Regions from separate parts of the Homo sapiens genome. Here regions 1 and 3 are each linked to region 2. The links are contacts of gene promoters, found by promoter capture Hi-C in blood cells and fetal thymus (Javierre and others, 2016). All regions are on one chromosome and are shown on one strand. Each heading gives the region's core, a stretch centred on a gene start or on the middle of the fragment in contact. The rest is flanking DNA. Distances are from core to core; before and after follow the strand shown. Region 1 holds the start of RBM3 (RNA binding motif protein 3). Region 2 holds the start of SLC35A2 (solute carrier family 35 member A2). Region 3 overlaps PPP1R3F (protein phosphatase 1 regulatory subunit 3F).

The links. Contacts are between HindIII fragments. The CHiCAGO score rates a contact against its expected background, and 5 or more counts as called.
Region 1: a contact is called between the fragment with the promoter of RBM3 here and the fragment with the promoter of SLC35A2 in region 2, in 1 of 17 cell types (neutrophils). The highest score is 6.9, in neutrophils.
Region 3: a fragment that was not itself captured here is called in contact with the fragment with the promoter of SLC35A2 in region 2 in 1 of 17 cell types (neutrophils); the score reaches 5.5 in neutrophils.

What each region holds. Positions count from the first base shown.
Region 1 is chrX:48,572,313-48,576,405 of GRCh38, forward strand. It overlaps RBM3 (RNA binding motif protein 3), which reads left to right and starts at 2,172. Exons shown (of 7, transcript NM_006743.5): 1 at 2,172-2,261; 2 at 2,856-2,971; 3 at 3,249-3,355; 4 at 4,002-4,093. The coding sequence starts at 2,869. RefSeq lists a cis regulatory region at 1,305-2,290 and enhancers at 2,047-3,246, 2,230-2,499. The HindIII fragment of the contact is 13,325 bases long and covers 1-4,093 here.
Region 2 is chrX:48,910,396-48,914,000 of GRCh38, forward strand. SLC35A2 (solute carrier family 35 member A2) reads right to left here and starts at 1,251. Exons shown (of 5, transcript NM_005660.3): 1 at 1,151-1,251. The coding sequence starts at 1,241. It overlaps PIM2 (Pim-2 proto-oncogene, serine/threonine kinase), which reads right to left. Exons shown (of 6, transcript NM_006875.4): 6 at 2,787-3,605. RefSeq lists a silencer at 445-494 and enhancers at 855-904, 2,145-2,194. The HindIII fragment of the contact is 18,859 bases long and covers 1-3,605 here.
Region 3 is chrX:49,273,111-49,277,010 of GRCh38, forward strand. The region is part of intron 1 of PPP1R3F (protein phosphatase 1 regulatory subunit 3F); the gene reads left to right. Among named protein-coding and RNA genes, the nearest start is that of PPP1R3F, 5.3 kb to the left of the region's middle. The HindIII fragment of the contact is 1,188 bases long and covers 1,516-2,703 here.

The DNA.
Region 1 (4,093 bases), core at 922-3,421, 340 kb before region 2:
GCACAGACCAGGCCGGGCGTGGTGGCTCACGCCTGTAATCCCAGCACTTTGGGAGGCCGAGGCAGGCGGATCATGAAGTCAGGAGTTTGAGAACAGCCTGAACAACATGGTGAAACCTCATCTCTACTAAAAATACAAAAATTAGCTGGGCATAGTGGCACATGCCCGTAATCCCAGCTACTCAGGAGACTAAAGCAGGAGAATCACTTGAACCTGGGAGGCGGAGGTTGCAGTGAGCTGAGATCATGCCACTGCACTCCAGCCTGAGCGACAGAGTGAGACTCCGTCTCAGAAAAAAGCACAGAACATAGGGGGAAAAATGATTATATCAAAATTATGGATCTTTATTCAACTAAGTTTACTGCTTACAAAGTTAATAACACAAATGCCAGAGCTGGAGAGGCTATTTCCAACACCTAAGGGATTAATAATTAGACTATGTGAGGAATCCCTGACAATAACAGGAAGATAAATATGGGAATTACCCCAACAGGAATATGGATGTACTGTATTCTGTATGTTAGCAAATTTGGTCTGTGTTGGGCAAATTCATTCTATGGATAAGAAATTTAGCCTCTGAGGGCAAACTAACTTATTCTTCGTTGATGTGGCGCTCAGAAGTGAAAAATCTGTCAAATCCATTTATTGTAAAGGTGGCCAAGACACTGAAGACTAAATTGTGAACAGTGGGCTCAGACACTACTTGATTGGGATAAGTCTATTGTGTATTGCGAAAGTCCCTTCTGTGAATCAAGGGCTCAGTTACTTTTTTTTTTTTTTTGAGACTGAGTCTTGCTCTGTCGCCCAAGCTGGAGTGCAGTGGCATGATCTCAGCTCACTGCAACCTCCACCTCCCGGGTTCAAGCGATTATCCCGCCTCAGCCTCCTGAGTAGCTGGGACTACAGGTGCCTACCACCACGCCCGGCTAATTTTTTTTTTTTTTTGTATTGTTAGTAGAGACAGGGTTTCACCATATTGGCCAGGGTAGTCTTGAACTCCTGACCTTGTGATCTGCCCACTTCGGCCTCCCAAAGTGCTGGGATTACAGGCATGAGCCACTGCGCCCGGCAAGGGCTCAGTTACTTTCGAAGAGAGCAAAAATTGCTCTATGGATTGGGATTTACAACCTCTGAAGATCGTAGCATCCTCTTTTGTTTTGTTTTGTTTTCACCCAGGCTGGAGTGCAATGGCGTGGTCTCGGCTCACTGCAACCTCCGCCTCCCGGGTTCAAGCGATTTTCCAGCCTCAGCCTCCCGAGTAGGTGGGACTACAGGCACGTGCCACCACACCCAGCTAATTTTTTTTTTCTTTTTTTTTTTTTTTTTTTTTTTTTGTATTTTTAGTAGAGATGGGGTTTCACCATGTTGGCCATGCAGGTCTCGAACTCCTGAACTCGTGAACCGCCCGCTTTGGCCTCCCAAAGTGCTGGGAATACAGGCGTGAGCCACCGCGCCCGGCCAGCATCCTGTTTTGTAAAAGCCATCTCAGGCAGTCTATTGGTGAGAAAATTAAGGGGCTGGCTTCACGCCAGCAGTCAGACAAGGGTGAGGGCTGAAGTCAGAGATGAGATGGAATGACGCCAGGGAAAAGGGTCCCATGACAGGCGGCTAGATGTTGAGCACAGAGGAGAAAGAGTAGGAGTCAGGGTCAAACCTTAAAACGTTGGGTCTGACATCATGGACTGTGAAGGGTGATGACATCAGTGACGGTGGGGGATAAAATGTCAGGCCTTTAAAGGGTATGAGGTTAAAGAACTAGAAGGTGAAGGAGGTTAACATCAGAGAATGGCAGGGACCTAGAGGAAGACGACTACGATGGTGAGGAAGACATCCGATCCAGCGGGGGAAATGATGGCAAGGACGGGAGGATGATGTCAGGGACAGCAAGTAGTATGAGATTGAGAAGGTTCCTTTGTGGAAGGGATAAAGGCAGCTCAGCCGGTTGTGGGGGGGATGCTGACGTTTAGGGTGCACCAGCTGTTCAAAAGTCGACCCCATTTCCGGAAACACCCCATTTCCGGAAACACCCCATTTCGCGGAGAACACTGCTCCCTTCGCTTTGCTGTCCCTTCCTCTCCCCACCACTCCGCTCCTGCTGGCCTCAGCCAATCAGCACGCACGCCGGGACGCGCAAGGGGAACGTTCCGGGACGTTCTCGCTACGTACTCTTTATCAATCGTCTTCCGGCGCAGCCCCGTCCCTGTTTTTTGTGCTCCTCCGAGCTCGCTGTTCGTCCGGGTTTTTTACGTTTTAATTTCCAGGTAAGTTGCATATGTCCTGCGAAACGGCGGCTCCTCGCCACACACGCGCCGCGCCGGCCGTGACCGGGGAATAGCGAGTGGGGAGAGTAATGGCCACTGACACGTAGGCTTGGCTTTCTCTGGGACGGGCGGGTCCCGTGCTTGGAGGTGAAACATTTCGGTTGGTGGGAGGCCGGCGCGCTGTATCTGAGTGTGAGGCCTACCGGGAGGGACTGGTGGCGTCGGTGGTGGCAGTGACCACGCGACAGCCGACACTTACTTTCCTTATCCCACGTGGCCGCCGCCATCTTGTTCTGCCGGCGTTAAGGGAACGCAGGGATGTTCTGGGCTTGCGCAGTGGCACAAAATGACGGGCGTGGCGGCTATGAATGTGAGAGCATGCGCAATGTGGCCCCCTAATGGTGGCTGCGCTGAGCCAGCTCCTCAGATTACCACCTTATTGGCCGCCTTTCTCAGCTTTTCTGTAGTTACCCATATTTTGTTCCTCTTTCTTGTCTATTTTCTGTGCTTTTTCTCTGCTTTCCGTCTCGCTATTTTCTCACATCTCCATTTTCTTTCTCCTTCCTGCCACCATTCTTCATGTTCTTCCCACAGGACTTGAACTGCCATGTCCTCTGAAGAAGGAAAGCTCTTCGTGGGAGGGCTCAACTTTAACACCGACGAGCAGGCACTGGAAGACCACTTCAGCAGTTTCGGACCTATCTCTGAGGGTGAGACGGGCCATACTCACAATGGGGGTTGGTGAGAGAAAGTCTGGGATCCTTGCATTTCAAGGAGTATTAACTGAAAAGTTAGGACCCACGCCTCCAAATTCTTTTTCTTCCTAAGCCTATGGTGTAGACTAAGGATGAGGGGAAGCGTCTTTGGGATTAGTGGGAGCGCTCCGTTTTCCCTACCTATGCCATCTCCTTTTCCGGCCACCCTTTGCTACTTAACCTTTGGGGTACTGACTGGTCCACATTGCTCCATCTTCTCTCCCTCTCACAGTGGTCGTTGTCAAGGACCGGGAGACTCAGCGGTCCAGGGGTTTTGGTTTCATCACCTTCACCAACCCAGAGCATGCTTCAGTTGCCATGAGAGCCATGAACGGAGAGGTGGGGCCTCCTATCTGCAGAGGGACCTTGTCCCCATCTGCGGCTTCCTTCATTCTTTTTGTTTTTCCCTCTGTGTCTGCTCGGGGCAGCGTGGCCACCAAGCCCCGCAGTGCCCACTCACAGGAGCATGACTGCCTTTTGTTCTAGGGGGTGGAGGGCAGCGGCAGACAGAGCCTGGCCGCCTGGGAGGCGACGACTGGTCCTGCATGAGGCCGAGAAGCCACCTGTGGATGGTTGACCTGCCTTGGGCTTAGGTAGTAGAGTCTGCAGACCTGTGGGCCTGGCCCGGAGAGGACCTCGTGAGTCTTCTGACATGGACTCTGAAGCCTCAAACCAAGAGAGGTGTCTGTCTAGCCCTGATAGTCGGGCAGCTTAGAGGAGTGGGGAGGAGAACTCAGCCTGAGTTCAGTCAAGATGTAAGTAGTAGCAAGGGGAACATGGTGCATTCAGGTCATTTTGTGTGGGATTCTATAGCTCCTGATGAAGCCATTCTGGGGTAAAGGAGCTTATTCTGGAACATGGCACCCAGAACCTGGTGCCCAGCAGGAATTTTTGGCCTCTTTTGCCCACTTACCCTTGCCTGCTCTTCCCTCACCATTGCCCTGACTGACTGCCAACCCATCATCCTTGTGTCTCCCACACTTAGTCTCTGGATGGTCGTCAGATCCGTGTGGATCATGCAGGCAAGTCTGCTCGGGGAACCAGAGGAGGTGGCTTTGGGGCCCATGGGCGTGGTCG
Region 2 (3,605 bases), core at 1-2,500:
GATTTCTATGGATTACCTCAATAGACTCATATCACTGTCATCTCCAAAAGAACTGCGAGGATTCCCATTTATGGATTAGCAAACTGAGAATTTATATGAAATGATGCTCCTGTTTAATGAGGGACTGTCTCATGTAAAGAATAACACATCAATGCAGGGAATGAGGCCACTGTATGAGGTATGTTCACCCCCTAAGAACGGTCTTTCTCCTATCTAAGAAATGATTCGATTCCCTCACACTGAGAATGGCCTACATCCCATATGGAATGATCCTCCTCATACCCAGAATGGTCTCTCCAACCCCTCACTCCTGTGACAACTGGTTCCTCTCGAACCAGAATAGTCTACTAAATACAAGAAATGATTCCCACATGCTCCCAGGGACTGAATCCTGTATCAGGAATGGTTATCCCACCAAGAAAGGTCTGGCTCCCTCAACCAGATGAGGAAATACTTCCCTGCACTCCACATGGTCTGCCCTCCCACCACCGCACACGGACCCTCTAGCTAATGAATTTTTCCTTGCTCTACCCACACTCACAATGAGCTCTCTCTGCTATAAGGAAGGACCCGGCACTCTCAGAACGTTCTTTCTCCACCATATAACGATGAGCCCTCCCACCCGAATGTACAATGAACTCTACCTCCATTAGGAGGGAGCCCCCAGAACGGTCTCCTCCGCACATAATGAAAGACACCCCCATCCTCAAAATGGACCCTCTCTAGTCACATAAAGAAGGACTCGCCCCACCCTAACTCACAATAGTCTCTGTCCCTTTATAAGGAAGGAACCACCACCCTCAGAATAGTCTCCCCCTTCTTCAGTGAGGAACTCCCACACCCGCAGAATGGTCTCTTCCACACGGAAGGACTCCACATATTCAGAATGGTTTCGGTGGCCTTAGCCTTCCCAAAAAGAATTACCCACCACACTCACAATGGTCTCTACTCTCCATATGCGGAAGGATCCCACAATCACTCTCAGAATGTTCTCTTCCCCGCCCCCAACACACTGACAATGTGCACACACACACACACACACACGTCGGTCCACACGGGATGCTCCCTCTCACTTTAGTGAGGAACATTCCCGACTCCCAGCGATCCCGACCTCCGCCTCCCATGCGACTGCTCGGGCAGACTGTCTCACCCGCACTGGCGGTCCCCGGCTCCAATGCACCCGCGGAAACCGCCCCTGGCCCGGGCGCCGCGGTGGAACCACCAGCCCCAACCGCTGCCATGTTGGCATCTGCCCGGCCCGTCCCCTCGGCAACAGAAAAACCACTTCCGCGTTCGTCACTTCCGCTGCCGGGCCACCTGAGTGAAGGTGGAGCGAGAGCCGGGATCGTCAGGGTGGTGGCTTTTCTCCTCCGCTCCTAAAAGCTCAATGTATGAATAGCCCCGGGATTTCCAAATTCCGTCGGATCGGGAGGCCGGGGACACGGCCCGATCGGCCTACCCACCATCCCTACAGAGCTTCATCGGCCCATTCCTGTCACTAGACCCGCCTTATCCTGCCGTTCGTCCGCTTCACTGATCGCGCTTTCCAGATCATCCCCCGATCTTGTCTCCTAGACTCATTGGTTCAGCCACCCCTTTCATCTCGGCTCTTTATTGGCAGCTTCTCCATAAGGCGCCGCCCTTTCCGTATCAGAAACTACCAGGTGCTTCATGGTTGGACTGAAATTCCGCTTTCCCGTCTTCCAGAGAGGCCTCGCCCCCTGGAGAGCACACGGGAATCTGGGGACGAAGAAACTTTGACCTGGCGGGGTCGGGGTGAGGGCGTACTGGCATCAGGTGCGAGTCAGGAATGTTAAGCTAGCAGATAAAAGCAGAGCAGGTGAGGATAAACAAGTGAAAATGCAAAGGAAAGTTGACGCACATAAGGGAAGACAAGTGAGTCACCACTGAGGATGGCAAAGGGGACAGGCGAAAGGCTCACAGGTTAGCTAGCATTTGGAAGCAGGGCAAGAGTCCGGGCCAGAGGCGGTGGCTCACGCCTGTAATCCCAGCACTTTGGGAGGCTGAGCCGGGCGATCACCTGAGCTCAGGAGTTCCAGCCTGGGCAAAACGACAAAACCCCGTCTCAAATAAAAAAAAAAAATTACCCGGGCTTAGTGGTATGCACCTGTACCCAGCTACTCTGGAGGCTGAGGCAGGAGAACCGCTGGAACCCGGAAGGCGGAGTTTATACTGAACCGAGACAAATAAGCAGGGCAAGAGAGGGAACAACTCAGGTCGGAACAAGTGAAACCAACATGGAATAGGGTAGGCCAGGTAAGTCAAGTGTTGAAGGAGAAATTAGAGGGATGGGTATGTAAGGGTAAAGATGGGGGAAGAGGCTAAAGATAAAGAGCAAAACAGGTGACTACACCCTGGACAGATTCCAGTCAGCGCCCAACCCCAGCCCCGCCCTGGCCAGTACCCTGACAGGGCTTTTCTTCTGCAACAGGGGAAAGGGCTTCTTCATTCCCCTGGGGTGCCAGGGAAGGTAGTTTTTCTGCTTCTGAGATAGCCATCTTGATTGGGGATGTGCCCTAAACACCTTCAATATGCACAGTATCTCCAACAGAGAACCCTTCTGCACATACTGGGCACTGCATAAGATCAGGGGCAGGGGAATCAAGATTTTTTTGTGTGTGTGTGGTGCAGCTTCAAGAATCCTTAAAGCTCTTTAGGATGGCAACATAAGACTGTGGCTTCCTGAGGACAAAGCAGAGGGACAGTCTGTCTCAGTGCACAGTAGATGCTCCATAAAAGCCTCACACCTACAAATGGCCAGCCGCTTCTGATTCTATTACTTTTATTAAATAGTGGGTTTCCACACATGGCTTTTTAAATAATCCAGGCAGGAGAAGAGAGGAGGGCACACTTGGAACTCCCCTCCCCACAATACGTGATTATTTACATTTTAGTAATTGGACAATCCCGGCTCAGGAGGAGGTTGCAAGAATCTGCAAAAGTTGGAGGGAGCGCCCCAGGAGAACAAACAGCAAGCCTTATTTCCCCTAGCCCATCCCCCAAAAAACCATCCATCCCATCCTAGTGTCTGGTGGTGTCCGGTGGTGTCCATCTTCCATTCCTTCCCAAATTATGGAAGTAAGGTTCTTCTCACCAGAATAAGAGCACTTGGGATAACAGAGTAGGGTCCCCTCACCCAAAAAAAAAAAAAAAAAAAAGAAGCCTTGGGGTAACAACAGGGCATTACCTCCCCCAGAATAAAGAATCCTGGGCTGAGGCAGGTAAGCAGCTTGACCCAATATGGGACCCTAGGCTAGGGGAAAGGGTCCCTTTACTAAAATAAAAGCTACTGGGGTATTGGAAGGAAAGCACCCTTGCCCAAGTAAGAGCATATGAACTAAGTTTGTGTGGTGGTAGTAGGAGGTGCCAATGTGGGGTGACACATCATCAGAATAAGAGTCCCGGGGCTCAGAATGGGAACAACTTCACCAAAATAAACTTCCTTAGCAAAATGAGAAGCAAGAAGTTCCCCCTCCAGAATCAGGGACCACAGGTTCTGGGAGGAAGGCTCCTTTGTAGGATTGGGAAGGGAACTGGGCAGACTTGGTTTATGTCTTCTAACCCCTGATCCTCAATCCCTTACC
Region 3 (3,900 bases), core at 860-3,359, 360 kb after region 2:
TACATATGTATGCACTTGTGTAGCCACCACCCAGATGAAGATACTGAGCAGGTCCAGTACCCCAGAGCTACCTTCATTTCTATCACTTTCCCAAGCTGTCATCCCCGCCGGCTGTCATGGGAACCCTGTCTGTAAGATGCGACAGTTTGGGTAAAGGAGTTTGGTCATTTTAAAGAGTGTGAAAGGCAGAGAACAGAGAAATCAAAACCTTGCAGGGCCAAGGTGGGTGGAGAGGGTGTTTTTCTTTTAACATACATGGGCGGTTTTAAGGAGAAATTGAAGCAGCCTGTTCAGACAATTGTTTTGGTATCTGGCCCCAGGTCTGTGGTTCCTAACATGACTTGTGATATTATTTTAAGTGGGCAGATGGCTTTTTGATAGCTTCTTTATCTTTCGATCTCAGCTCTTGCAAAGGGGAGGTTGGTGCTCATTGCAAGATCAGCGATAAGGGTTTCTTTGTAGGTCGGTGGCTTTCTTGGTGAGTACATTTCAACATATTATTGTTTTAGAACCTGTGTGCTGCCAGTGACTTGCAGCACTGTTGAAGACTAGCCACCCTTTGTGACCTAGCCCTCTTGGGAAATGGCGGAGGATCTCAGGGTATATCCCTTACCTGTGGGAGCCCTATCAGAGGGCTTCCTGTTGAGGAAATGTTGGCTGTAGGCCCTCTGTGCACTGAGCACAGCCACATCAGGTGAGGGCATGGGAGAAGTCCGTGGTAGCCATCAGGATAGAGTTCAGAAACCCAAATGGCTGCTTTCCCTGGGTTGCTGGACCAGGCATTTGGTAACTCTAAAGCTTAGAGATGATTCATCGACAAGCATTTATTGACTGCCTACTGTGTGCTGGGCACAGTGCTAGGTTCCAGCAGGGAAAGAGATGCAGAGTGGTCCTAAGATGTCACAGGGCTTGTGGGATGGAGTACAGAGGATTTGTTGTATGAGACCTGGCTGAGCCCCTGCTCTTCGCCAGGCACTTCACTGAGTACTATATTTTCATGCAAGGTCTGGTTTAATTCCGACAACATTCCCTGTGAAGTAGAGGGTTTTAAATTTCTCTTTCCTGGATGAGCAAACTGAGGCTCCCAGAGTCCAAAGTCCTAGGGCTGGTGTGGGGAAAAGCCCTCCTGATCTTCCTTGGCACTTGACACTACCCTTTGGAAGTGTCCTATTCTTCTTAAAAGTAAAGACCAAGAGAGCCTCACCATGGTCTTCAAGCACCCTCCCATCCCATTCCCCAATCTGGCCTCCACTGGCTCATAGTCTTAACACCAGTGGTCTTTCTGAGCTCCTGTCACCATGGTCTTTCTGTTACTCCAAAGGGCCTCGCTCCTTTCTGCTGCAGGGCCTTTGCCCCTGCTGTTTCCTTCACCAGGAACATTTATCCCGTACCCCTTGCAGTCTCCTCCAGTGTTGATCCCTCAGTTCTAAGAGGACTTCCCCAGGGGAGCCTGTCCACCCCAGTGTCCTCGGGCCCCTGGCTTTTTCATAGCACTCATCAGCCCAGCACGTGCTAAGCTTTGTTAGAGAATGTCCCATGGCAGAGCAGATGAACATCGCCACCAGTCGAGGGGTCATCGGCCACCCTGCCTAGCAGTTCTACTATATTTTTTTGATCCACTCGTTTCTCCTCTGAAGTGACTCTTTCAAATGTTCTTTACCTTCAGACTTTCTCTCCTGCTTCAAAAAACAAAACAGAAGCCATAAGAATGGAACTCCCTATAACTTGTGGCCCCCAAGTCTGCACGCTGATTTCCCTCCCCTGTGTTACAGATGACGAGGAGTCCCTTCTTGCTCAGGCCACTTCTCCCTCCTGTGCTCTGGGTCCCAGTTTCTGCTACTTGCTCTAGAATCTGACATCATCAGTCACCTTTTCTCTCCTGGCAGGTTTTCTGCTGCCCTCCTTGCTTGATCCTCTATTCACCTTTGCCTGTGCCAGCATCCCTTCTGTCTCCGCTGACCCCACGTTCTCTCCCTCCTGCTTCTGGCCAGCACCTCATCACCCTCCCCTTCACTGCTGACCCCTGCAGAGTTGCCTGTACTTGCCTTCTGCACTTGCTCACCCCCGTAAGTGTTAGCCCCCGGCATCTGCCAGATTCTGCAGGTGGTTTTTTAGTTTTCCTCTTGAAGTGGTTGACCACTCCTACTTAAAACACTTTGTCTTCCCTTGCCTTGAGACCACACTCTGCTGGTTTTCCTCTTAACTCTCTGGCCCTTCTCTTTCTCCTGGCTCTTCCCTTAGCTTCATGTATCCAAACTCGGCATCTCCACTTGACTGATGGCCCAAATAATTCCTCAAACTCACCTTGTCGGGGACTGCATTCATCACCTCTCCCACAGTGTTCCCAAGCAGCCTCTCACTCCCCTACCTCCCCACTTGCTCGTTTTGCTTTTCAGCATCCTTAAGTAAGCCCTGCCTGACCCTGTAGATTGGGCCAGGGACCCTTATTCTAGGGCATTCTTTCCTTTTCTAAAGGCACTGATCGCAGTTTGTAGTTATATCTTTATTAGGGGGTTGCTGGATGACTCTCTGCCCCGCTAGACTGTAAGCTCCGTGAGGGGTAGGGACATGGTCTGCTTTCATTCACCACTGTATTCCTGCAGGCCTGCCACAGTGCCTGGCACTTAGCAGGTGCTCAATAAATGTTTGTTGAAATAATGAGTTTGAGTATTTTTTTAATGTCTTCCTCCATACTGAATTGTAAGCTTCCTAGTTGGGTTTGCTCACCATGGTGTCTCCAGGATCCGTCACTGGGGCTGATGCACAGGAAGGCCCACTGTCTTTCAGTGCACCTATAACTGAAGGGATGGGGATCCAACCTGCTATCTGAGTTGGCAGCCTCAGGGGAAACCAGAATAACTGGAGTTGAACGGGACAAGTCAGGGGCATCTTAGTTTTCTGTAGAGTGAGGAATTAATGTGAACGTGATCCTCTTTTATGCCACAGAAAACTTGGTAGGGCATTATGGTTAAGGACATGGGCCTGAGGCCACGTGCTAAGAAAGTGGCAGAGCTGGGATCTGAGCCTGTGTGGTCCTGCTCTAGTGCTCCAGCTCTTAGCTACTGTACCAGGCTGGGTGATGCATTTTACCAGCAGGGCAACACTGGGCAAGTTGCTTTCCTTTCAGAGCTTCAGTTTCCCTCAATGGAAATTTGGAGGGGGTTACTGTTAAGTGCTTTATAGGTACTTTTCAAATATTTCTTTGATCTGCTGAACAACTCACTGATGTAGGTATTATTATCCCCTCCTTAGAGATGAGGTAACTGAGGCACAGAGAGGTTAAGTAACTTGCCCCAGGTCACACAGCTGATAGGTGGCAGAGCTGGAATTGTTCAAAATTGCATATCCTAACCCTTTATTGAGTTGTGAAATCAATTTACTGGGTTTCAACAAGCATTAAAAAGAAAAAGGAAATAGCATAAGAAATGCCAGTGTATCACCACATGCAGTAAAGGTAAGTATTGTTTCACTCGAAGAACAACCATTTTTCAGTTATTTATATGTCTGTTTACACGTGTGGGTGTGCTGGGTTATGATGTAGAATGGATTTCTTACTATGGGTCGTGGCCAAAGAATGAAGTCATGGCTGTTGAAGAAGCTCATGGCACGAGAAACTGCTCTCCCTCTACCCCACTGGATCACCCGCAAGTCCCAGAGTTGAGGCTGACACACTTGTTGGGGAAGGCAAAGCAGTGCCCCACATAACTTGGTGGCTTTCACAGCCACCTTCAAACCCTGTTCTTTTCAGAAAGCAGATGGCTCAGGGTAACTGCAATTCTGAGTATCGTGGGGCAGGTTTCTGAAGCCACTCATCCCCCCGGAAAGTCAGCGTTATCTTCAGGTTGACTACATGGGAGCCGGGGTCTGCTGAGTTTCCCTTTGGGTTTCAGTGCCTGACCC